Regions from separate parts of the Homo sapiens genome. Here regions 1, 3, 4 and 5 are each linked to region 2. Evidence: promoter capture Hi-C in human tissues and cell types (Jung and others, 2019). All regions are on one chromosome and are shown on one strand. Each heading gives the region's core, a stretch centred on a gene start or on the middle of the fragment in contact. The rest is flanking DNA. Distances are from core to core; before and after follow the strand shown.

What was found. Contacts are between HindIII fragments. The study calls those that stand out against the background at their distance.
Region 1: a fragment that was not itself captured here is called in contact with the fragment with the promoter of SCARF2 in region 2 in 4 of the 25 tissues and cell types used here (dorsolateral prefrontal cortex, heart right ventricle, mesenchymal stem cells and 1 more).
Region 3: a fragment that was not itself captured here is called in contact with the fragment with the promoter of SCARF2 in region 2 in 1 of the 25 tissues and cell types used here (dorsolateral prefrontal cortex).
Region 4: a fragment that was not itself captured here is called in contact with the fragment with the promoter of SCARF2 in region 2 in 4 of the 25 tissues and cell types used here (IMR-90 fibroblasts, bladder, lymphoblastoid cells and 1 more).
Region 5: a contact is called between a fragment that was not itself captured here and the fragment with the promoter of SCARF2 in region 2, in 6 of the 25 tissues and cell types used here (IMR-90 fibroblasts, bladder, dorsolateral prefrontal cortex and 3 more).

Annotation. Positions count from the first base shown.
Region 1 is chr22:20,683,618-20,688,895 of GRCh38, reverse strand. No RefSeq gene overlaps it. Among named protein-coding and RNA genes, the nearest start is that of SERPIND1, 88 kb to the left of the region's middle. RefSeq lists a silencer at 1,734-1,954. The HindIII fragment of the contact is 7,577 bases long and covers 240-5,278 here.
Region 2 is chr22:20,436,340-20,441,082 of GRCh38, reverse strand. SCARF2 (scavenger receptor class F member 2) reads left to right here and starts at 3,258. Exons shown (of 11, transcript NM_182895.5): 1 at 3,258-3,501. The coding sequence starts at 3,329. LOC107985588 (a long non-coding RNA gene) reads right to left here and starts at 3,087. Exons shown (of 2, transcript XR_001755623.2): 1 at 2,572-3,087. The HindIII fragment of the contact is 17,878 bases long and covers 1-4,743 here.
Region 3 is chr22:20,584,556-20,589,234 of GRCh38, reverse strand. MED15 (mediator complex subunit 15) reads right to left here. Exons shown (of 18, transcript NM_001003891.3): 15 at 4,220-4,380; 16 at 3,968-4,134; 17 at 3,409-3,507; 18 at 1,616-2,667. The coding sequence ends at 2,531. LOC124905084 (a long non-coding RNA gene) reads left to right here and starts at 341. Exons shown (of 3, transcript XR_007068013.1): 1 at 341-428; 2 at 1,274-1,406; 3 at 1,489-1,647. The HindIII fragment of the contact is 9,714 bases long and covers 1-4,679 here.
Region 4 is chr22:20,632,890-20,638,188 of GRCh38, reverse strand. No RefSeq gene overlaps it. Among named protein-coding and RNA genes, the nearest start is that of MED15, 130 kb to the right of the region's middle. RefSeq lists an enhancer at 3,548-4,290. The HindIII fragment of the contact is 6,289 bases long and covers 1-4,851 here.
Region 5 is chr22:20,663,430-20,668,307 of GRCh38, reverse strand. It overlaps the pseudogene ABHD17AP4. Among named protein-coding and RNA genes, the nearest start is that of SERPIND1, 110 kb to the left of the region's middle. The HindIII fragment of the contact is 5,707 bases long and covers 509-4,878 here.

The sequences.
Region 1 (5,278 bases), core at 2,779-5,278, 250 kb before region 2:
GACGGAGTCTCCCTCTGTCGCCCAGGCTGGATTCCAGTGGCCTGATCTCTGGGCTCACCGCAAGCTCCGCCTACCGGGTTCACGCCATTCTCCTGCCTCAGCCTCGGGAGTAGCTCGGACTACAGGCGCCCGCCACCACACCCGGCTGCTTTTTTGTATTTTTAGTAGAGACGGGGTTTCACCGTGTTAGCCAGGATGGCCTCGACCTCCTGACCTCGTGATCCGCCCGCCTCGGCCTCCCAAAGTGCTGGGATTAAAGGCGTGAGCCACCGCGCCCGGCCGAGACTCTGTCTTAAAAAAAAAAAGGCCGGGGCTGTGGCACTTTGGGAGGCGGAGGCGGGTGGATCACGAGGTCAGGAGTTGGAGACCAGCCTGGCCAACATAGCGAAACCCCGTCTCTACTAAAACTACAAAAAATTAGCCGGGCGTGGTGGCGGGCGCCTGTAGTCCCAGCTACTCTGGAGGCTGAGGCAGGAGAATGGCGTGAACTCGGGAGGCGGAGCTTGCAGTCACCCGAGATCTCACCACTGCACTCCAGCCTGGGTGACAGTGCGAACCTCCGTCTCAAAAAAAAAAAAAAAAAAAGAGAGAGAGAGACACAGAGAAAAATGTTTATTGACTTAATGCACTTTTATGCCTGTGTTCTTCAATTTGCTTAGGAAAGACCTACACTTGAGAGCTGGGACTGTGGCCGATTGTGGACATGAAATATATGGTTTCTTGCAAAAACTAGACACTGAATAATTACGATTTAGTTGAGCTAGAAATCCATTTGGTTTCTTCCATATTTTTCCAAAATTTTCATCCTTTTTTTTTTAATTTTGAGACGGAGTTTCGCTGTTGTCTCCCAGGCTGGAGTGCAATGGCGCGATCTCAGCACCTGCTGGCAATGGCGGGAGGCTAGGGGACGCTGGCTTGATAGGTACTGGAAGGAGAGGCGCGCGCACAAAAGACTTGGGAAGACCTGGCGCGCACAATGGCTGCAGATCCGCCAGTGGATCACTGAAGATTCCTGCTCTCCTGCTGAGGCGGGGATTGCAGTGAACTGAGATCGCACCATTGCACTCTAGCCTGGGCAACAAGAGGGAAACTCCATCTCACACACACACACACCAAAAAAAAAAAAAAAAAAAAAAAAACACACAAAGAAAAGAAAAAGTAGTGGCCAGGCGTGGCGGCTCACACATCCCAGCACTTTGGGAGATTGGGGCGGGCGGATCACGAGATCAGGAGTTGGAGACCAGCCTGGCCAACATAGTGAAACCCTGTCTCTACTAAAATACAAAAATTAACCAGACATGGTGGCACGCGGCTGTAGTCCCAGCTACTGGTGTGGCTGAGGCAGGAGAATCACTTGAACCCGGGAGGCGGAGGTTGCGGTGTGCCGAGATCGCGCCACTGCACTCCAGCCTGGGCTACAAAGCGAGACTTCCTGTCAAAAATAAATAATTAATTTTTAAAAATTATGTAGAAGATAAAAACTTTATGTTCTTTTTAATGTTTGCTGTCCATAAAATCATCTGGGCCTGGTGCTTTTCTTTGGTTTTGTTTTTTTGTGAGATTTTTGAGGGGATGGGATACAGATTTTTTTTTTTTTTTGAGACGGAGTCTTGCTCTGTTGCCCAGGCTGGAGTGCAGTGGCACCACCTCGGCTCACTGCCACCTCCGCCTCCCGGGTTCACGCCGTTCTCCTGCCTCAGCCTCTGGAGTAGCTGGGACTACAGGCACCCGCCACCAGGGCCGGCTAATTTTTTGTATTTTTAGTAGAGATGGGGTTTCACCGTGTTAGCCAGGATGGTCTCGATCTCCTGACCTTGTGATCCGCCCACCTCGGCCTCCCAGAGTGCTGGGATTACAGGCGTGAGCCACCGCACCCGGCCGGGATACAGATTTTAAAATAAACATTCAATTCCTTTAATGGTTCTAGATCTAGACAAACTTTTCTGCTTCTCCCTACTTTGTTTTTATGAAGTTATATTTTTCTTTTGAGACAGAATTTCTCTGTTGCAGTCACGCGATCTCGGCTCACTGCAACCTCCGCCTCCCAGGTTCAAGTGATTCTCCCGCCTCAGCCTCCCAAGTAGCTGGGGTTACAAGCATGTTCTACCACACCCAGCTAATTTTTGTATTTTTAGTAGAGTTGGGGTTTTACTATGCTTGCCAGGCTGGTCTCGAACTCCTGAGGTCAGGTGATCTGCCAACCTCGGCCTCCCAAAGTGCTGGGATTACAAGCATTAGCCACCCCACCTGGCCTGAAGTTATATTTTTCTATAAAACTGCCTGTTTTGATATTTTAAAAAAATCACTGGCATAACTTGGTTTATGTAATGTCCTTATGAGTTTTGTCTTAATATTATTTATTTATTTTATATATTTATTTAGAGATTGAGTCTTGCTCTATTGCCCAGGCTGGAGTGCAGTGGCCTGATCTTGGCTCACTGCGACCTCCGCCTCTCAGGTTCAAGCAATTCTCGTGCCTCAGCCTCCTGAGTAGCTGGGATTATAGGCACCCACCACCACACCCAGCTAATTTTTGTGTGTGTTTGTGGTTGTTGTTGTTGTTTCTTTTTGTGAGACAAAGTTTCGCTGTTGTTGCCCAGGCTGGAGTACAATGGCGCAATCTCAGCTCAGCACAACCTCCACCTCCCGGGTTCAAGCAATTCTCCTGCCTCAGCCTCCTGAGTGGCTGGGATGACAGGCATGCGCCACTACACCAGGCTAATTTTATATTTTTAGTAGAGATGGGGTTTCTCCATGTTGGTCACGCTGTTCTTGAACTCCTGACCTCAGGTGATCCGCCCGCCTCAGCCTCCCAAAGTGCTGGGATTACAAGGGTGAGCCACCGCACCTGGCCATTTTCATATTTTTAGTAGAGACGGAGTTTCACCATGTTGGCAAGGCTGGTCTCAAACTCCTGACCTCAAGTGATCTGCCAGTCTCGGCCTCCCAAAGTGCCAGGATTACAGGCGAGAGCCACCGCACCCGGCCTAGCCACCACGCCCGGCCCATTTATTTCTAAGTAGAAAATACATTTGTATATTTCAAAATTCAGAAGGCATCATCTCAACCCTGTCCCTATTCCTGCAGTTTCTCAGATACAACCAAATAGATTCAATTTCTTGGTATCTTTCTAGAGATAGTTTATGAATATAAACAAATATCCAAATAAATAAATATGTTCTTTTGCTTTTTTTATACAAATATTACTTTATTGTACCTATTGATCTGTTCCTTTCTCTTTCTTTCTTTTTATTATTTTATTTTATTTTTTGAGACAAGGTCTTGCTCTGTGGCCTAAGCTGGAGTATAGTTGTGCAATCTGGGCTCACTGCAGCCTTGACCTCCGAGGCTCAAGCGATCCTCCCACCTCAGCCTCCCGAATAGCTGGGACTATAGGGCCATGCCACCAAGCCCGGCTAAACTTTTTGTATGTGTTGTAAAGGCAGAGTTTCACCGTGTTGTCCAGCCTGGTCTCAAACTCTTGGGCTCCCGCGATCTGCCCAGGTAGGCCTCCCAAAGTGCTGGGATTACAGGCATGAGCCACCATGCCCAGCCTCCAGCTCTTATAGTGGACCTGATATTATAATGCCCACTTCCTATGATGAAAAGGAACTGAATGAGTGTGGAATCTCTAGGACCACGCTGGCATATAATGGGCCCTTGGGGTTTAGTTTAGTAGCAAATTAAAAGGTGCCCATTCCTCAAAACCTTCTATAGACGTTTTTCACGAAACTGCCATGGATAAATATCTGCAAATCAAAGCAAAACTTTAGGGACAAACTACATCAGTCTTTGCCTGTGAATTTTGCATCTATGATGCAAATGACATCCCTCTAAGGTGTTACCCTTCTGCAGTGCACTACCTGTGCAACTGTCCTCAGCAAAGATAGAGTAATCTGCAGTAACTGAGTGGTGGCTGCCCCCTTTACAGAGGCATAAGTTCTCAACTTGCCACAGTCTGCACCATTCTGCTTTGTTACCACTTGTGTCTGCACTGAGTCCCCACGTCAGCCGTGTGCTAAGTCCTATGGAGCTGGCCTTCACGGTGCTCACACACCTGTACCCTCCTCTGTGCCCCACGGACCCTGCACTCATCTGGGCCTTCATGTGCTCTCACTCATTCCTGTCACACAAACCCCTACTAAGTACTGCACATTGAACTGGGCATGGTATCCAAGATGCCCAAGCAAGTCCCTGCCCTCCCCATGTTCATGTTCTGGTGACCTCAGGAAACTATTAAAATATAAGGAGGGGTGTACACTCTACTTTTGAGAATGCAAACGGGCACAGCCTTTTTGGAAGGCAATTTATCATCATGCACTGAGAGCCTCAAAACTGCCTGTGCCCTTTGATACAATCATTTGACTAATGTGCTCTAGAGAAATAACCAGAGATGCATAAAAGATTGATGCCTAAAGATGCTCATGGGGCTGGATGCAGTGGCTCACACCTGTAATCCCAGCCCTTTTGGAGGCCTAGGTGGCTGGATCCCTTGAGGTCAGGAGTTTGAGACCAGCCTGACGAACATGGTGAAACCCCAGCTGTACTAAAAATACAAAATTAGCCAGGCATGATGGCGCACACCTGTAATCCCCGCTACTCAGGAGGCTGAGGCAGGAGAATTACTTGAATCCTGGAGGTGGAGGCTGCAGTTCTCACCATTGCACTCTAGCCTGGGCAACAAGAGCAAAACTCTGTCTCAAAAAAAAAAAAAGATGCCCATGGAAATGCTGTTTATCATAATGAAAATTGGAAGTGTCCCCAATAACAGGGGATTGGCCAACTAAAATTTGGATATGTTAAATGTTAAAAGCAAATGTTAAAAGCCACATGCTCAAAGAACACTTAACCATTCATGAAAATACACATGATTAATGTTCAGTGAGAAAATTGGGAAGAAAAAAATCACATGGCAGCTGGGTGCAGTGGCACGTGCCTGTAGCCCCAGCCATTCAGAGGCTGAGGTAGGAGGATTGCTTGAGCTCAGGAGTTGGAGACCAGCTGGGGCAATACAATAAGACCCTGTCTTTAAAAATCAATCAATCAATCACATGGCTTGTCTGACAGTTCCTCAAAAGCTTAATCATAGAATTACCATATAACCCATTAATTCCATTCCTAGGTATATACTTGAAAGAAATGAAGACATATGTCCCCACAAGAACTCCAGACTGCTGGTTCCATGGGATCTCACCTGGGGCACCTGCCTGGGTTCTTCATTGGCTGAGAGAGGATAAGTGGAGGTCTGGGCATGATGCTCCCTATCCACTGAGGTTTC
Region 2 (4,743 bases), core at 2,009-4,508:
GAGTGTGCTGGGGAGGGGAGCTGCATGTGCTACAGGTTTGCCAGGTAACCCTTAGGCACCCAGTCTCAAGGACCACACTGGCACAGCAGCTGGGACCCTCCCCTGTTCACCTGTCCCCATGCTTTTCTTGCCCTCTTGAGACTGCCAGGCTTAGCCTGCACCCTGCATGGATGGGCTGTGAGCCCACACCAGCCTCACTGCAGGGCTGCACCACACGAAGCTTTCTTCCATCCTGATGCCCTCATAGGGTCTGCACCTGCAGACTCCTACTATGAGCCTTGTGCCCAGAGCCATCCCGCAGACAGGGCTGTAACTTGCCAAGGCCCCATCCTTTCCCAGTTGACTGGGCAGAGCATGGGGACAGCCATGTGTTCCTGCTGGCATCCTGTCCCGGAAGAGAAGGGGGCAGTGTGTGCTCCTTGATGGGAGGAGAGGGGATGGGGACGGGGGACTATCAGTCACTCTGGGCTCTCCTAAATGGATACCCCAAGGATTCTTGAGGGTAGAGACAAAGCCCTCAGAGTTGGCCTGTGCCCCCAGGGCTGTGGTATGTGGGTGTGTGTGTAACCTGAAGACCTTCCTCACTGTCCTGGGCCCTGAGTACCCCTGAGGAAACATGACATTGCCTTGGGGTGGCAGACCCAGTGTTGAGCCCTAGTGGGGCGGGATGGCTATACACTCCAGTGTCATCTCCCTTTCTCCTGAGGGTGAGGCGCAAGAGCATGGGTTCAGAGTAGGAACCCCACTCTGTGGGTCTCAGACCCAGCACTTCCTGTGTCTCTGCTACCACCTGGCAGGCCAGGGCAATAGCTCCTGCAGACCTCAGAGGTTTCTGGAAAGGAGGAGCACCAGACATGCCCCACCACTCTCCAGTGCGTCCTGACAACATGCTGGCTGGCAACATCTCACCTGAGCCACCAGCCACAGCCACAGGTTTGCAGGAGGCCTCTGGTCTGCAGGGGCAGGAAGGGCTCACTGAGGTCCTGCACAGCCTGGGGAGGGGTGGAGAGTGCCTTGGAGTTGGGCGCAGCCTGGCCCTGCCACTGTCAGCCTTGGGGCTAAGCTGGGTTTCTAAGGGTTACACCTGATACCCCGGAGCTGAGGCAGCCCAACTTGTGCTCTCCAGTGTGGCTAGGCTCTTGGTCCCTGCTTTCATGCAAAACCCTCCTCAGCCTTCAAAGTCCACTTCCTTCTGGCAGCCATCCTGGCCAAAACCAGCAGGCCAGGGCTCCGGGCTCCAGCAGTTTGCCTGCGTGGTGGTCAATTGTCTGTGGGTTCCTTCTACATCCTAGTGCCATGTGGATGATCCTTCATTCCTCCCATACTTCTCAGTCTTCCCCTAGGGGTGCAGTGGTGGTTGGGAGAAATGAGGGCTCTGCCCATGACACCCAAAGTTGCCATCTACTGCAAGGGATGTATGTACCGGGTCGTGAGGTGAGACTGGGGATGGTCCTCATCCTGAGAGCAGTGGTGGATAGCCACATGTGAGATTAAAAAGACTACTCTGGGTGGCAGACAGGGGTGGGCAGAGATCTAAGACATTTAGGAGGTCCTGGGGGATTGGGGGGCACCATCCAGGTGGTGCCCTCCCTGGACAGGTCTGGGGGAAGGAGAAAGGTGATGGAATTTGATATGCCTATTCATGACCTCCATCCAGCTGAGGTGAGTGTCCCCTCCAGCCCAGGGGGTCAGTGCCTCTAAAGCCAGGAGCTGGGCTGGGACAGACCTTGCAGCCACTGGGACCTCTGCTGGCCTCTATTGGGAGCCGCAATCCGGATCCTCCGTGGGAGGGGCCCCAGCACTGGGAGGGCATTGCTGAGGTCAGGGCTGTGCCCAGGCTGAGCTGCCCAGAAGTGGTTGGCCTGTTTATTTGTCCCCAGGTAGTTGCATTCGTGTCCACACTAGTTCCACTTCTCTTTCAGCCCACCCCACCTCCCTCCTGCACCAGCATGGCTGAGTGAGGGGCCTGCTCCTCCCCATCCCACTCTCTGCCTGTGCCAGCCTGGTGATGCCCATGGCCTTGGGCCTTTCAGTGGCTCCTCCTCCAAGCCCCCTCCTCCAGCCCCACCCTTCGGGGCTATCTGGCCACACCTGGACAGAGTCTGCCTGCCCTCCCTCAGTGAGCCTGTGGGCCGCATGTGGCCTGCTCCCCAAAGAACGGAGGTGCCCGCTCCCTGCTTAGGCCTTCTGCCAGCTCTCAAGTCCCCAAAAGACAAACATCCTCACTAGGACCTGGCTACACACGGGACATTTGTGCTCCCTGCCCAACTTCCAGAGTCGGTCTGCCCCAGTTGCCCCCCGGGGACCCGCACCCTGCTGCCTCCCAGTCCAAGTCCAGCTTCCCCGCTGGCTCCCTAGGGCCTGTCCCTCTGTCTTGCTCCCTTCCCACACCTTCCTTCTGCTCTGTGCTGTTACCCACCTTACCTGATGCAGGAGTTCCCACTCTCTAGCCCCAGCCTCTCCTGGAAATCCGACAGCCAGCAGAATCCACCGCCCAGGCTCCCCCAGCCCCCTTCACTCCTCAACTAGGACTGCAGGGTTTCCATCCCGGGGGTCTCCTTCTGTCTTTACCTCTACTTCCTACCGCAGTCCACAGCCTGGCCATTCTACTTCCTCTGTATCTCTCCCATCCGTCCCTACGGAGACCCCTTCCCCCAGGCCTCTGGTCCGGACCGAGTCTACCACAGGCCTCAAGCATCCTGCTCGGTCCGCCCCTTGCGAGCTCTGAGTGCGCAGGAGTGCGCAGGGGGAGCTGACCGCACACCCCAGCACTACAAGGACTTCGCGGTGGGGTGCTGTGGAGTTGGCTTTCGGCCTCGACCTGGGCTGTCTGCGGGCCCCACTCCCTTGGCCGGTTCCGAGGCGCTGGGAGCGGGGGTGGGCTTGCGGAGTCGCGTCCGTGTCCCCGATCCGCCTTCCCGTCCCGGGCCTGGCCTACGCAGTGGGCGCGCAGGGGCGGCTGCTTCGGTAGATGTCTAGGGAGCGGAGGGAAAGGCGCGGGAACCGGGGATTCCTCGGGCGGACCCTCCCTCCACCAGCGCTCGGCGGGCCTCCTCCAAGTTCGCCCCCAAGTTTGCGAGCGGCCAAATGGGGGCGGGGGCTGCGCGGAGGGGCGGTGGCTAGGCCGGAGGGTGGGGTCTGGAGCGCGGGGCGGGCGCTGCCGCCTGGCCGGCCGCGGCTGGCCCGGGATCAGGGAGCCGATGTGGAATTTCCTGCCCGGCTCGGCGCCCCTCCTGCCGCCCCCCGCCCGGCCTCGCACTCCGCTTCCGGCCGCTCTCGCTGCGGCCGCACCCGCGCCCGTGCCCGCCCCGCGCCTGCCCCGCGCCTCATGGAGGGCGCAGGGCCCCGGGGGGCCGGGCCGGCGCGGCGCCGGGGAGCCGGGGGGCCGCCGTCACCGCTGCTGCCGTCGCTGCTGCTGCTGCTGCTGCTCTGGATGCTGCCGGACACCGTGGCGCCTCAGGAACTGAACCCTCGCGGCCGCAACGTGTGCCGTGCTCCCGGGTAGGAGCCGGCCTGGCTGGGGGAGGGGGCGAGAGGGACGCTCTGGGCAGTGGTGTGGCGGCGCCGGGCATTGGGAGGGGGCTACCGGAACCTTCCTACGCCAAGTGTGGGCCCCTTCGGCTCCCTAGCCAGCGCGGCTCCGTTCCAGGCCCAGCCTCGGCCATGGGCCACGACAGTGCATCCCAGGGAACCCTGGACGAGAAGTCACCTGAGGGGAGGATGGAGTGCCGTGGGCACCCAGGGGATGACACGCGTTGTCCGGGATATCAGGAAAGACCTGGAAAAAGGGACCCTTGACCGAGTTGTGAAGTCCACGGGGAAAAGCTGGGGAAGGGCATTCAAGCCAAAGGAACTGCATGTGCTAAAGCCCCGCACTAGTCCGACTGGAGCCGGGAGTGGGAGTGAGGAGGAAGGTCAGGGGAGGAGGAGCGGTGCTAGCCGGGGAGGTCCTGGAGCAAGCCAGACTTGGAAAGACAGATTCGCGTCTTAGAGCGGGCGCGGGTGGGAGGGTGGTGACCCAGGCGAGCGTCGAGGAGCCGGCGCTCGAAGTGGACCAGAAGCGGGAGGCGGAAGGACTATGACAGGCACAGGGGACCGGAGGATGTGGGAACCCTGGCGACAACCAGGTGGGGATTCTGGGTGCAAGAAGGGGCCGCGCAAATGTGGGGCGCCGGCTGGGGAAGCCAGTGTGGGACAGGCAGGCGACAGGCCCGGCCGGTGGGGGGGCGAGTCCGGGAGTTTGCACGGAGGGCAGAGAGGTGAGCCCCGGACGCCAGGAGTTAGGAGCTGGGGTCGGGGGAGCCGGTGGGCTGGCCAAAGGCCACAAGGTCAAGGGCATCTCCACGCAGGGGTGAGGAGCGGGCGTGTGGGGGCGCCTTGGCGCGGATTGGAGACGCCGCACGGGCTGGCAGCCGCAGAGGCGGCCGCCGGGCTCCGAGCTGGGTCGCGTCGGGGCGCCTGAGCCACGGACCCGGGGCAAGCCGAGTCCAGGGGCTCGGCGCCAGAGACAAGGGGCTGCGAGGGGGCAGCGCGGGGTTTCCGAACTCTGGTCCGGAGGCGCGCAGACCCCTCCCCGCTGCGAGCCCCGCCTCCGGGGCGGGGGCCGGCCTGGCCCGCCATCTGCTTCGCATCGATGCCGCCGCCGCGGACTCCCGGGCCTCCCCGGCCCCAGGAATGCAGCGGCGGCGGCGGGCGGGGCGGTGCCTGGAGAGGGGGAGGGCGCGATCGCCGTGGTCTCTGTCT
Region 3 (4,679 bases), core at 1,553-4,052, 150 kb before region 2:
TCCCAGGCCTCGCATGCAGTTTTATTTTACCCAAAACAGAGCCAGCTTCCACTATATTGACTGTTCTAGAATGTTCACAGGCACCACCCATGGGCTTCATCCTCAGAACCTCATTTATTCCTCCTAGAACCCTCCAAGGCAGGCTTCCCTTTACAGAGGAGGCAACTGAGGCAGGGGCTTCTTGGGCACACACAGCTGATCCTGAAAGACTTGGGCAGCGGCTGTTGGTGCCTGCAGTGACTGGCCCTGTCGGGTCTGACCTGCAGCCAACTCTCAAGGAAAGGACAGGCCCCAGCCGGTTCCTTCAAGAAACAAGACTCTAAAGCACTGGGGTACTCTAAGGTACCCCAGAAGGCAGACCTTGAGGAGGAGCCACTGCTTCACAACAGCAAGCTGGACAAAGTTCCTGGGGTGCAAGGGCAGTCCAAGTAAGGTTTGCCTGCACCCTAAGGGCCCCAGGACCACATTTACTAGGCTCCCACACTGCAGTCAGCAAACTGCTGTGTCCCTTGCTCTAGGATCCTGTCTCCAGGGCTCATGAAAGCAGACAATGGCCACGCTCTGTCCACACTCTGTCCATTGGGTGGGCGCTGTCTTCCTCCCCTCCCCTGGAGTCCTGCAGATTACCTGTGCTGACCTGAGCCCACAAGAGGGGGCAGCAACAGCCCCTAAACCACTTTCTCAGAGAAAAGAAAACAAAGTAATCTTTTTACCAAGAAAAGTGAGTTGTGTTCCTGGGCCTGATTAGAATGGAGCTGGTCAGTGCCTGCTGCCCCTGGCCACAGCCTGCCTTTGGAGGGGACTAGGAGAGCAGGACCAGGCTCTGGTACTCCCCGAGTTGCCGGGCTGCCCTGAGACATTGCAGAGTGCACATTTTGAGCGGTGCAACCAGCAGGACAGGCTCCTGCATCTCTGCACGTCCCCTGAGACCAGCCCTGAAGCAAGAAGCCCCACTGGGTATAGGGTCCTGACTAAGGGCAGCCTGGCAGCTAGCTGGTCACCCACTGAAGCACATCTGACCCTCAGGGCACCTTCAGAGGGGAGGAAGGGACAGACCCCAGTCCGAGACCCCCATCTGGCACCCAGAGCACTCTGGTCAGTGGGAGAAGGGAGCCAGGCCCTGTTCCCCACACTGGCCTGGGCACTGCCTGGGGGAAGTATGCTGCCTGGATGCTCAGACCCACCTGGGCAGGTCATTTCTGGCTACTGTAATGACTTTCAGAGACAGGGAAGCAGAGGCCTCTAACGCCAGGGCTTTCTGTTGGGTGGGCAGCCAGCACAGGGACAGGCAGATGATGGCACTCCCCGATGATCCTGTCCCCACACCTGCGAAAGCCCACCACACTTCAGCAGTGTAAGTGGTCATCCACCAGCTGTGGAATACCAACCTTCTGCAGGCCCAAGAGGTGAGGCCCTGGGTGGTGGGGATGGCCCTGGGCAGCCTGGTGCCACCGCAGGCCCCACCACACCCCTGCCCCTGCCTTTCAGCTGCAGCACCTCAAGTCCCTCCTGGAAGGGAGGCAGAGGCCCCAGGCAGCCCCAAGGCTGACAGCATCCTGACAGGACAGCGAGCCCAGATTCATGGAGAAGGGGACACAGTGATGAACAACTGACAAACACAGGAATAATAAATTTATTATAATCACAGATGGTGGGGTAGTGCACATAAAAAGGGGGGACCTCTTCTCACCAGAGGGTGCTGGCCGGTGCCCAGAGTGGCAGGCAACATAGGGAGGCGCTCCCTGCATGGCCCGGCCCGCTGCCAGGCCCGCTGTCTCTGGGTGCTCAGTGTGTGGTGCTCTGAGGACACGGGTCCTGAGGGCCTTGCTCTTCATCCTTCACAGTGGGGACACGGCCCTCATGCCAGCGGCACAGGGGTGCCGGCAGCAGGATCCCTGACGCCCCTGCTCCCTGGGTGCCCCACGGTGCTCAGCAGGAATGCCGTGAGGGCTGAGGCCCAGCTGGTGGCGGGGAGCCAGCAGCACCTATGGGCCAGCCCTCCCTCCAAAAGGCAGCCTGTGCCCTGGACTTGCAGGCTTCCTCGGGGGGTGCTCCACCTGCCCAAAGCAGCATAGCCTGAACCCAAAACTGTGACCAGAGAATCCCATGTGTGTTTTAAGGGTTTCCTATGTCCTCTGTGTTCTATAGGAACGAGTAGGGGTGCGTCTAGCACACACGAGACGCTCTAACAACACCCTGAGTGCACCCTCACGCTGCTGAGATGGACCTGGACCGTGGACAGGCCACGGTGAGAGCAGCCTGAGGATCGCATCTGGCTCCTGGGAGGAAGTCACATGGAGGGCCTTCTCTAAGAAGTCGGCCAACGCCCCCCAAGCAACCCGCTCCACTGCGCCTATCCCAGTTCTGTACAGGTGTGGGATTTCGTTTGGCAGGTCCCCAAGGCAGAAGATAAAAGCAGGAAAGCTAACCTAACCCCAGGCTCTCTAAGGAAGCCAACACCTAGAAGTGTCTGACAGGAGGCGTGTGTCCTTGGCCCCGATGAGGCTGCGGGCCATCCCTGCAGTCTTGGCTAGGCGGCTGAGAGGCAGGCCTGGTGGACGCTCTGGGCCCAGGTGTTGAGCAAGGCGGTGACCGAGTGCTTGTCCGGGAGCTGCAGCAGCCTGGAGGTCATGCAGCGGTGCACCGACTGGAGGAAGGGGTTGGCGTCTGCAACAGAGCAGTGGGCGTGAACCTAAGGCGGCCGGCGCTGCGCTCGCTCCTGGCACACCCGGCAGTGCTCTGGGAAGGGGTAGCCCCAGGCGCGGGCCGAAGCACCAGGAGGTGATGTGTCCTGCACGCTGCCCGGCCTTTGGGCTCTCCTCCCAGAGCCTCATCGTCAGTGAGAACCAAATCTGAACAGGATCTAGGGCTCTGCCTCTAACAACCTTGGGGACCCAGCCTGGCTCTACTGTGTGCCAGCTCTGCTGTGTGCCAGCTCTGCTGTGTGCCAGCTCTGGGCTCAGAGACTGCCCCCTGCCACCGTGGTTCTCTCTGGAGCCACAGCACCCAGATTGGGCCCTGTGTGCCCAAGCTACCAGTGGAACCTGGCAGCCCTGCCAAGGTAGTGGCCTCTGGGAAGCTAGTGGCCTCTGGGAAGAGCGGGGACTGTCCCTGAGCCATGGGCTTACTCACCCCTCACCCACTGAACACAACCACCCTGGACAGCTGACGTGACACAAGTTGAAGGGGCGAAGGGACACAGTGGGAGCAGAGACCCTTTTCTCTCAGGCGACCACTGGAAAACCCGCTGCTGTCTGTGCAGGAGGAGCCAGAAGAGGGGAGGGAGGGGCCTGAGCTGGGGAGGGGCAGGAGCACACAGAGGCTGTCCCTGCTGCAGTGGAAGCCTGGTTTTCCACAATGACCCCTGCTTGCCCTGGGTCCCCAGACAGCTCCTCTGGGTCTACCTACCGTACTGCCACTGCCGGTCTATCCACAGCGGGCTTTGGGCAGGATAGTCAGCGGGCACACTGAGCTCCAGTGGTGGCACACTTGGGAGGTCCTTGTCATCTGCAACACAGAAGGCTCTATCTGTGACCTGGACAAGCCCCGGCCTGCCCTGCCTCACAGCCCTGCTCTGGAACAGGACTCCACACCCAGGGAGGTTCTGGTGAAGCTTGTGGCAAAGCCTGGAGGAGGTCTCTCTGACTCTCAGATTTCCAAACGTGAAGCCTGGAGTGCTCTGCATTGATGGGTGCCCAGAGGTCCTGCCTACCACCTCCCTAGGGCCCAGGCAAGCAAAGCCACATCTGTGTTGGGGAGGTGAGAGTGTGCGGGCTCTGGCAGTGGGGACTGAGGCATGGCCAGGCTGTCTGGAGCCCGGTGTGTGTGAGGATAGAGCAGACAGCCTGGCGGGGCGTGAACACAGGGTGGGTTCTGGGCGCTGTGCCATCTGGCTTGGATGGCAGAGTCCTGGGGCTGCGGTCAGGGCCTGCTTTCCCACACCAGTCCCGGCCCTCTGGACACTCACCCAGCTTGCAGATCAGGTGGACAGTGCCATTGTTGCTGCAGTGAGAAGGGTCCAGGTTTACCAGGAACTTGGGGTCCAGCCTGGCCACCTCACCCTGGAGCACACTGGGGATGCTCTGCCGCTCATCATCCTCAAGCCTGCGCTTCCGGGTGCACACCACTGGGGCCCTGGGGAGGCGGCATGGTGACCACACCTGGCACACGCGGCCCAGGGCTGGCCGCCCTCCGCAAAGCCCAGCCCAGCTGGACATACGTGATGGGTGGGCCGTGAATGGCGGTCATGGCTGGAACGAATGTGCGGTACAGGGAATGGTTGAAGACAGGTGAGCGGATGTTGGCCAGGACGGCATCCAGGAGCGGCTGGCATAGGTACTGCTGTTTGGTCGGTGGCACCGGGGGCGGTGGGGGAGTGGGCTGGAGACAGGATGGGCACGGTCAGCAGCCCGGGACCCGAGGGTTCCCCATTTAGGGGGCCTTCACACCCCAGGCCCATGGTCACTCACAGTCAGATTCCCGAGGCCTCTCTCACAGCCTCCACCCTTGTGCAGACAATGTTGGCTGATCCTGGGAATAATCCCCCACCCCCACAGCCTATCCTCCCTACAGTCCCTGCCTCCTCTGAAATGGGTGAAGGAGGCACCCACGGGGGCCGTAGACAGAGGGTGACTTCTCCCATGTTCCCACCCAGCACAGCAGACCTGGCCAGGAAGCCT
Region 4 (5,299 bases), core at 458-2,957, 200 kb before region 2:
GGTTGAGTGTATCAAGAGTTGATTCCTTTGGATGGCTGAGTGCTATTCCATAAGATGGATGTAGCACAGTTTAACTGTTCACCTGCTGATGGATGGCTGAGTTATTTCTAGATTTTTGGCTATTGCTATTAAAGCTGTAATGAACATTCACGTACGGTTGTTTGTATGAGCACAGGTTGTCATTTCTCTGGGATAGATGAGTCAGAATGTAATTGCTAGGTCATACGGTAGTTCCATGTTCAGTCGTATAAGAAACTGCCAAACATCAACAGTAGCATGTGCCTTTAGTCCCAGCTACTCTGGAGGCTGAGGCGAGAGGATCACTTTAGCCCAGGAATTTGAGTCCAGCCTGGGCAATATAGGGAGACCCTGTCTCTAAAGAGAAAAAAGAGACTGCCACACTTTTGCAGTGGCTGTGGTATTTTATATGCCCACCAGCAATATATGAGTGATTCACACTTATATCTTCAGCAGAGTTTTGTCTTGTCACTATTTTTTATTTTAGCCACTCTGATGTGTGTAAATTATATTTCATTGTGGTTTTAATTTGCATTTCCCAAATGGCTAGTGAAGTTGAAGATCTTTTCATGGGCTTATTTGTCCATTGTGTATCATCTCTGGTGAAATGTCTGCTCGTGTCTTTTGCCCATCTTCTAATTGGATTGTTTGATTTTTTGTGTGGAGTTTGCAAGTTCCTTATATACTCAAGATAACAGTGCTTTGTTCATATATGTTGTTTGAAAATATTTTCTCCTAGTCTGTAACTTGTCATCTTTTTAACAAGGTGTTTTGCAGAACAAATTTTTAAATTTTGATGAAACTTAGCTTAGCAATTTTTCCTTTTGTAGACTATGTTTTTGGTGTCAAGTCTAAGAAAATTTTGCCTAGTCCTAGCTCCTGAAGATCTTCTCCTACATTTTATCCTACAGGGAGGCACCTGCAGCTGGGCTGGCTTTCCAGCTATTTTAAGCCTCAGGGAATCTTGGTTTCTCCAGGCCAGCTGTGCTGGGGATGAGGTGCCTGAGCTCATGGGGAGACCAACATGGGCAGGGGGCTGACCCGAGGCTAACTGGGGCTGGAACAGCCTGAGATGACAACAACCAAGGACAGAGACAAAATAGAATATCCATTTTCCATCTGAATGTCTCTCCAGCCACCCAGAAAGTCAATTTCCATTATTATGAACCTAGCTTCACAGAGGGGAAACTGAGGCTGAACCCGAGCCTCCAGCTCCAGCCACAGGCCTGGCCCAGTCAGGGCTCCTCAGCCCCTGGCCGCCTCCAGTCTTGGGACATCGCTCCTCCTGAGACCCCAGACAGGTGCTCTCTACTCCCCACTCTCTGCCTTATTTCTCCCCAGCACAAACCCCATCTCCTACACCACATCGCTCCCTTGTCTATTGGGTTGATTTACATCTCCCCCAAATACGAGTTCTCCGAGCCTGGCTGTGCCTACCTTGCCCCTTGCTGTGTTCCATGAGCAGGAGGTGCTCCCTTGTCTGACCAGGGTCCCCTGAGAAGTGGGCCCATCTGGCTGGTCTGGGGTCTCACCTTCTTCAACCACTCTGCCCAGGAGCCCCGGGACCCAGCACCCCTTCCTTTCAGAGCTGCTCCGTGCCCCCGGGCCCTCACAGCCTTCCTGTCTCCTGTGGGTGCCCTGGCCAGGCCTGGCTGGTGGGTCATCCTAACCATGGGCTACTCTGTCCTCAGAGTGGACATGGGGCATCTGATGGCCCCAGCTCTGTGACACAGGCCACAGAAGTCACCCAGTCCCTCACTGGCTCTTGTACTTGCCTCATCGAAACATTCTCCCTGAAGCCCGTGGTCTCCCCAGACTCATTTCTCATTGGTCCCCACATGTGCTGTGCTATCGCTGATCGGAAAATGGGGTCAGGGTCACCCCCGGCCTCTCATGAGCTGGAGTGAGCTTATCCCCAGGGGCTTTAAGCAGGGCCCACGTGAGACCACGAACCCCATGGTGACTGCCCAGGTGTGGCCCTTGGTAAGGCTGTCCTTGTTGATGTGTCAGGAAGGAGAGTCGAGGGAGAGCCCCCTCTGAGAGGTGTGACTGTCATTGTGCTGCGTCACTAACCGGTGGGCATTGCAAGTGGACAGTGACTTGTTTCCTCTACCTCCCGGGAAGTTCCCACATTCTAGTTGGCTGAAGCTTGGTTTTGGACCTTCGTGTTGGGGGGAGTGGGTGCTTGCTGGGATCCAGTGGCCTCTTTTTGGAGCATCTGGGTCTGGTTTGCTTGTTACCAGTGAGTGTCGGTGTCCTCAGGAGAATACTGGCCGGGGACCAGCCCCCTCTTCCCACCACTGGGCTCAGTGAGTATGAGGGGTCAAGGGCCCCTCCACAGGCCTGGCTGGGGATGCTCTCTTGGTGCTTTTGCAGGCCCCATGGGGGGCCAGGTCAGATAGGAGAGTCATCCGCTTAGCTCAGTAGGAGCTCCTAGCCCTCACCCAGAGCCCCAAGCAGCCACCTCCCCTCCCATTTCCTCCCCTCCCCCAAGGCCCCTCCATACCCACCGGGGCTATTTGGGGCTCTGGTTTTGGCTGTAGAGGAAGCCACAGATGCCCCTCCCCCATCTGATTTAGAGCAAATGCCTCAGCCCTGGTCACAGCGAGGCAGGACCAGGGCCGGGACAATCCCTCCTCCCTGGACTCCAGTGCTCTTCTCTGTACCTTTAGGGGCTCTCCCAGTGTGGACCTACCCTGCCCTGGTGCTGTGGGGCCATCACTCCTGAGGATATGACCAGGGTCTGAGCTGGGCAGGGCAGCAGGTGCAGGGCAGTGCAGGCACAGGGCCAGCTGGGCCACTCTCAGGCTGGCCGGAGCCTGGGTGGCCCTGGTTGGTGCCTCCCTCCTGGTCAGCATCCCCTCTATAAGGTGGGCAATGGCAGCTCTAGAGCTCAGGGTCGCTATGAGGCAACCGTGGTGCATTCCTCATGGTCGGCCTGCCCTATGTGAGGTGGACCATGGCTGCCCTGGGCCTCAGGGTCACTGTGAGGGTTGATGAGGGACTGTGATGTTCCCACTGTGGCCCAGGGATGACAGCTGGGGCTCCGTCAGATGGTTCTTTCAGTTAAATCTTCTGCTAAGTAGGGGGAGATGCCCCTGCTGCCCCAGGCGCTCCCTGGGCCAAGCTCCAACCTTGGGGACTTGAGGACAGGGGGGTGCAGTGGTGTCTCCCTGTTGTCCTCCAGCTCATGAGCTTCTCCAGGGCAGGTGGTCCTGGTCTTGCACCAGCACCTGGCCCACAGCTGTGCTCACTGAGGGTTTGCTGAATGAGTGTGTGAGTGAATGAATGAAGGACTGAGGAGCTGTGGAAAGAGGCTGGGGGTGGGTCAGGCAGCAGCTCACCATGTTGACCCGGGCAGGTCACTTCCCTTCCCGTGGAGCCTCAGTTCTCTCTTCGGTGAAATGGGCACACGAGCACCTGCCCCTGCTCTGCTTTGTGGACTCCGAGGACCCTCCTGCTTCTGCCTGTCTCCTACACCGGCTCGATGTAGACTGAGGAGTGTAGGTCCCCAACCCCACAGAGCCACAAGGGGATTGGTGTGTTCAGTACTGTCTCCTGGCCCTGCCTAGCACAGCCTCAAGAGGGAAGGGTGACCTTGGGTCAGGGGCCTGGGCACCCACTGTCTGTGCTGCCCTGAACACCTGCAGGACCTGGGCAGGCTCAGCCTCCTCAGTCTGGCCTCAGGGAAGGGGGTTAGCCCTGGGTAGACCCAGGGTCAGACTGGGCATCTACCATCTGTGCATCCTTCAGCAGGTGTGGAACCCAGCCAGGCCAAACCCTGTCTCTACCAGAGCAGGGACCATGCAGGAAAGACTAGGTGGGGCTGGGCCTTGCTCTCTCTCCTGGCACCTTCCTCTCGGAGAATGGCTGGAGCCCCAGACCCAGGGAGCCTCACAGAGAAAGTCCCGAGGCAGGACCTGGTTTTCCACCTGAGGCCCAGGATCCAATGGAGAGGTGTTTCCCAAAAAGAATGCCCCCCAAAGGCAGCCAGTGACTTTCTGTGCCACACACTTGAGAACATCTCCGTGTTCTGGGGCTGCCAGGCAGTCACCTGTGCAGGTGTCGGAGCCCAAATCCAATCAATACTAAGGGATTGGGTAAAACACATCCCCACTGCCTGGAGTGGTGGTTCACACCTGTAATCCCAGCACTTTGGGAGGCCAAGGTGGGCAGATCACGAGGTCAAGAGATCAAGACCATCCTGGCTAACACGGTGAAACCCCACCTCTACTAAAAAAAAATACAAAAAATTAGCCGGACATGGTGGTGGGCGCCTGTGGTCCCAGCTACTCGGGAGGCTGAGGCAGGAGAATGGCGTGAACCTGGGAGGCGGAGCTTGCAGTGAGCCGAGATTGCACCAGTGCACTCCAGCCTGGGCGACAGAGTGAGACTCCGTCTCAAAACAAAACGAAACAAAACAAACAGACAAAAAACACATCCCCACTGTTAGTTCTGAGGAGATGCCTGGCCTCAGCATTGAAAACACCAACTTCCCTCAAGCAAAGGCTTTGTTAAATCTCATAGAAATGATGGAGCTCCTGTTACCCTTCTTGCTCTGGTTCCTGGGGAGCTTAGAGCCTATCTTTGGCAAGTGTCCTGAGCCTCCTGCAAGCCTTTTGTGTGTGTTTCCTTCTTGCCTTCCTCCGATTTTTCTTACACCTGTGAACCTGCTGGCAGGTGAAGAATCGAGGTGGGCCCCAAATTTAACAGCTCATGAATTTGAAGGTGCTGGAGTATTCTGGACAGTCCAGCTCTCAGGGGTGGGGAGTTGGGCAGAGAGGGAGGAGGGGATTCCAGGGGCCAGGGCCACGGGCAGAGGAACTCCAGGCCCAGAGTGTTACTTCCAGGCTGAGGAAAAAGAGGTCGTAGGTGGGAAGAGTGTCTTTACTAGGGCAAGGACAGAGGGCATATCTGAAGGCCCAGCCAGGGACAGCTCCATCCAGAAAGGAGGCAGGGAGTGGCGGGGGGTTGGGGGAGGGAGTGCTGCAGCGGGGAATTGGAGGAGGGAGAGGGCAGAGGGACTGGTCTTCAGTGATCAGATTGCTCCTTGCCTGGCCTGTTTCTCCAGCAGATGCCCCTGGGAGCCTGGGAGCCTCTCCCACAAGCTATTTTCCCACTGAGTGTCAGGATTCCCCCATCCCCCACTGAGAACCTGGGGGAAGTGTCAAATTATATGAAAGGTAAGAAATGAAGACAGGGAGCAGAATTTCTGATTAACAATGAGGATATTTACTGAGGGTTTATTGGGTGCAAGGAGAAGGGCTGGATGCCTTGGGGT
Region 5 (4,878 bases), core at 2,113-4,612, 230 kb before region 2:
ATCCGGAGCTGGGCCCGGGGACGCCCGCTGGTGGGAAGGGTGCGCCCGCGTCGGAGGCCGCGGCTGACCCTGCTCCGGCGCCGCCAGGTACGGCATCAGCCCGGACAGCATCATCCTGTACGGGCAGAGCATCGGCACGGTGCCCACCGTGGACCTGGCCTCGCGCTACGAGTGTGCCGCGGTGGTGCTGCACTCGCCGCTCACCTCGGGCATGCGCGTCGCCTTCCCCGACACCAAGACCTACTGCTTCGACGCCTTCCCTAACATCGAGAAGGTGTCCAAGATCACGTCGCCCGTGCTCATCATCCACGGCATGGAGGACGAGGTGATCGACTTCTCACACGGGCTGGCGCTCTACGAGCGCTGCCCCAAGGCGGTGGAGCCGCTGTGGGTGGAGGGCGCCGGGCACAACGACATCGAGCTCTACAGCCAGTACCTGGAGCGCCTGCGTCGCTTCATCTCCCAGGAGCTGCCCAGCCAGCGCGCCTAGCGGCGGGCCCCAACCGGCCGGACCTCAGCAATAAGGCGGCCCCCGGACCTCACCCCGCGCCGGCCCCCCAGGGGCTGCATGTGGACCCCCGGGCGGCCTAGGGGACCCTGCCCCGACCCAGGGGCTGTGGACGATGTACACAGTCAACAGAGCTACGCACTCCTTTCCTTTTGGAAGCAAAAAGAAAATATGTGAAAACAGAAATTAAAGATTTAAAATTTAAAAAAAAAAAAGAAAAAAAAATTTTGTTTCCGGGAAGTAACATCTTAATTTAAATGGAGGAATTTACCAAATCAAGTACAAGGATTTTATTTCTGCTACTAAATGGAAGATATATGTAAAATATAGACTCCATCACTCTATTCTTTACTATCATGAGAATTAATATAGACAGCATATTTTAGACAGAGCATACAAAGCCTTATGTTCACTGAATTACAAGTAAAATATATGTACGTATCTATAAATAATTATATATCTAATTTAGATAGTAAATGACAGAATTTACTTATTTACCTGTGCATGATGGAATTTGATTCTAGCAATTATTCCGGGTACGATAACTGGTTGAAAATGGGATATGAAGTAAACTGGTATGCTTAAAAGTAACTACATCAAGTGAATTCATTATAATGTCTCCAAGCAAGGCAAGACCACCCTCATGAGATAAGAAATGAGAGGCTACTTATTTTGACTAAGTTGACTCAATGACTTGGGGAACCAAGGACTATATGTACATGGATACTTGTTTTGTACCCCCCCAAAAAAATGTGTTTCCACTGCAGTATTTGGGAACCCATTATTTCTTGATTCATGCTCTTATTTTCATATAAGAGAAGCGTTGATACCCCAAAATCAACTTAAATTTTAATTAACCAAATATAAAATTTTTAAAGACAAAAAAAATTTCATAATAAGAGTTAAGCCAACAGAAAGGGAATATGAAACAACAGAGAAAATCAATAAACCAAAATTAAATGTTTGAAAAGATAACAAAATTGGCAAATGTTTACTTAGGTCAATCAAGAAAAAGAGAGAAGAGACTCAAATTACTAAAATCAGCAATAAAAGAAAACCCATCACTGCCAGTATTACAAAATAAAAATACAAGACAATGCAGTGAAAATCTTATGTTAAAAAAATCAGATAGCCTAGATAGAATGGATGAATTCCTAGAAAGACACAAACTAAAATAGATGAAAGGACTAAGGAGAAATAGAAAATCGAAATAGATCTACAGAAGGTAAAAAGATTGGATTGTAATTTTAAAAACTTACAATAAAAATCTCAAGTAGCTTCCCAGGCAAAATCTATCAAACACACTGAGAAATTAATATCAATTGTTCACCAACTCTTGCAGAAAATAAAAGGGGAGAGAACACTTCCCAATTCATTTTATAAAGCCAGGATTACTGACACCAAAACTGTATCACAAAACAATATAGAACAGTATCTTTCATTTTGTGTGTGTGTGACAGAGTCTCACTCTGTCATCCAGGCTGGAGTGTAGTGGTGCAATCTCAACCCACTGCGACCTCTACCTTCCAGGTTCAAGCGATTCTCCTGCCTCAGCCTCCCAAGTAGCTGGGATTACAGGCGTGCACCACCATGCATGGCTAATTTTTGTATTTTTAGTAGAGACAGGGTTTCACCATGTTGGCCAGGCTGGTCTCGAACTCCTGACCTCAGGTGATCTACCCACCTAGGCCTCCCAAAGTGCTGGGATTATACAGGCGTGAGCCGCCACGCCCAGCACATTGTTTTATAAAATCAAAAGTCTTCAACAAAATATTGCCAAACTGAATCCAGAAACATATAAAATAGATTATGCACTATACGCAGATGTGATTTACCCCAGGAATGCACCATTGATTTAATATTTGAAAATCATTGCATGCAAACACCATATTAACAGAATAAAAGACAAAAATATATAAGCATCTCAGACAGAAAGCATTTGAGAAAATATCACACATTCTAATAATAAAAACACTCCAGGCTGGGAGCGGTGGCTCACAACTGTAATCCCAGCACTTTGGGAGGCTGAGGCGGGCGCAATCACGAGGTCAAGAGACTGAGACCATCCTAGCCAACATGGTGAAACCCCGTCTCTACTAAAAATACAAAAACTCAGCCAGACATGGTGGCAGGCGCCTGTAATCCCAGCTACTTGGGAGGCTGAGGCAGGAGAATCGCTTGAACCTGGGAGGCGGAGGTTGCAGTGAGCCAAGACCTCGCCATTGTACCACTCCAGCCTGGGCAAAAAGAGTGAAACTCTGTCTCCAAAAAAAAAAAAAAACAACAAAAAAAAAACAAAACACTCCAAATTTACGAACAATAAGGTAACTTCCTGAAACTAGTGGTAGTTACCTATGAAACTTACAGCTATCATTATACTCAGCAATGAGAGGGTGAATGACTAATCAGTTACAAGAATGTCCACTCTTGCAAATTCTATTCAACATTATATTGTAGATTGTAGCGAGGTGTAGTAAAGAACGGAAAATTTAAAACATCCTTATTGAAAAGAAAATAATTTTTTTATATTTACACATGGCACGATCTCATATATAATTCTAAGAAATTCAGTAAAATACTATTAGAAATAAATTTGACGTAGTTTCAAGATATAAATGCAATACTAAAAATTTAATTTTATTTCTATATACTATCAATAAACTGCTTTAAAATGGTATTAAGGAAACAAACCCATGTATAATACCAACAAAACAAGTAATAAATTTAGAAATTAACAAGAGCAGTGCAAAATTCATACTTTGAAACCTGCAAAATATTGTTGAAATAAGTTGAAGAACAATTAAATAAATGAGAAGTGGTGGAGCGAGATGGCAGAATAGAACTCTACAAGATTGTCTCCCTGCAGGAACATCAAATTGAACCACCAACAATCTAAGCAAGAGAATACCTTCACAAGAGCCAAAGAAATCAGGTGACAGATCACAGAACCTGGTTTTAGCTTAAAAACAAGAAAAGACACATTAAACAGGGTGGAAAAGACAGTCTTGCAGTGCCTATACCATCCCTCCCTCAACCCCAGGCAGTGCAGAGAGACAATGTGTCCACTTCCAGGAGGGAGAAGAGAGTGTGCATTAAACTTTGCCTTGGAGCCCAGTACCAGCTCTGCTACAGTAAAACACAGCACTGGGCAGAACCCCATGGTCCTTGATTCCAGGCCGGTGCCCACAGACAGAGCATTTAGACATGACCTGGGCTAGAAGGGAATCCACTGCCCGGTGGGACAAACCTGAGTCCTGACTTCCTTCACCACCAGCTGTTTAAAGTGGCCTCAGGCTCTGAATAAATTTCAGTGGCAGGCAGGCCATAGCCACTGTGGTCCTTGGGTGAGCCCCAGCAACCAATGATGTGCTGGTCTGGGAGGCTGTGGGTTTCATATATGACATCCGCTACAGTGGCCACAGGGCTGCCTGTGTTACCCTAATCCCAACTCCAGGCAGTGCAGTGCCGGGAGAACTCCTTTCCTATGCAGGAAAGAGGAGAACCCAGTCCAGGCTCCACCACGGTGGACACAGCATCAGGCAGAACACAGTGGCCCTGATCCCAGGCAGGAGCTCCCAGACACCTCTAGACCTGCCTGGAGGTAGAAGAGAACCTGCTGCCCTGGCGGGATGGACCTAAACCCTGGCCAGCTTCACCACCAGCAGAGTAGCTCGGCCTCAAGACCTACATAAGTCAGCAGCAGTCAGGCAGTAGTGGCCACAGGACTCAGACAAGCCCCAGTGCTGCTCTGGTCCTAGAGGCTGTGGGCTTCGGGTATGTGGTGCCAGCTGCAGTGGCCATGGGAGTGCCCAAGCCACCCTTCTCCCAGATCCACAAAGCTTAGTACCCAGACTCCTTCCAATGGGAAGAAGAGGGAAGTGAATGAAGCACTTTGCCTGGGAACCCAGGGAACCCCTCCCTTATCTTCTCCAAGTCCATCAGGGCCCTCTGGGACCTCAGTCCTGCAAGAGTCACAGTGAACCTGAGCTTAGGGCACCCTGGTGCTGAAACAGCTTCAGTGACCCCAGCCTTAGGGAACTCAATAGTCAGTACCCTTGGAATTTCTGGAAGACCATCTAGAGGAGGACAGGTACAAACAAGACCAGACTACAAAGACTGGAATAAATACTGACTTATTCAATTCCCAGGCATGAACATAGGCCCAAATGCATTAAGAACATTCAGGGAAGTATGACCTCACCAAACAATAAACAAGTCACCAGTGACTAACCTAGGAGAGATAAAGATGTTAAACTATTCAGAGAGGGAGGTAAAAAATAGCTGTTTTGAGGAAAATCAATGCAATTTTAAAAATATAAGTAATTCGGAAATGTATCAAAGAAATTTAACAAAGAGATTGAAATAATTTT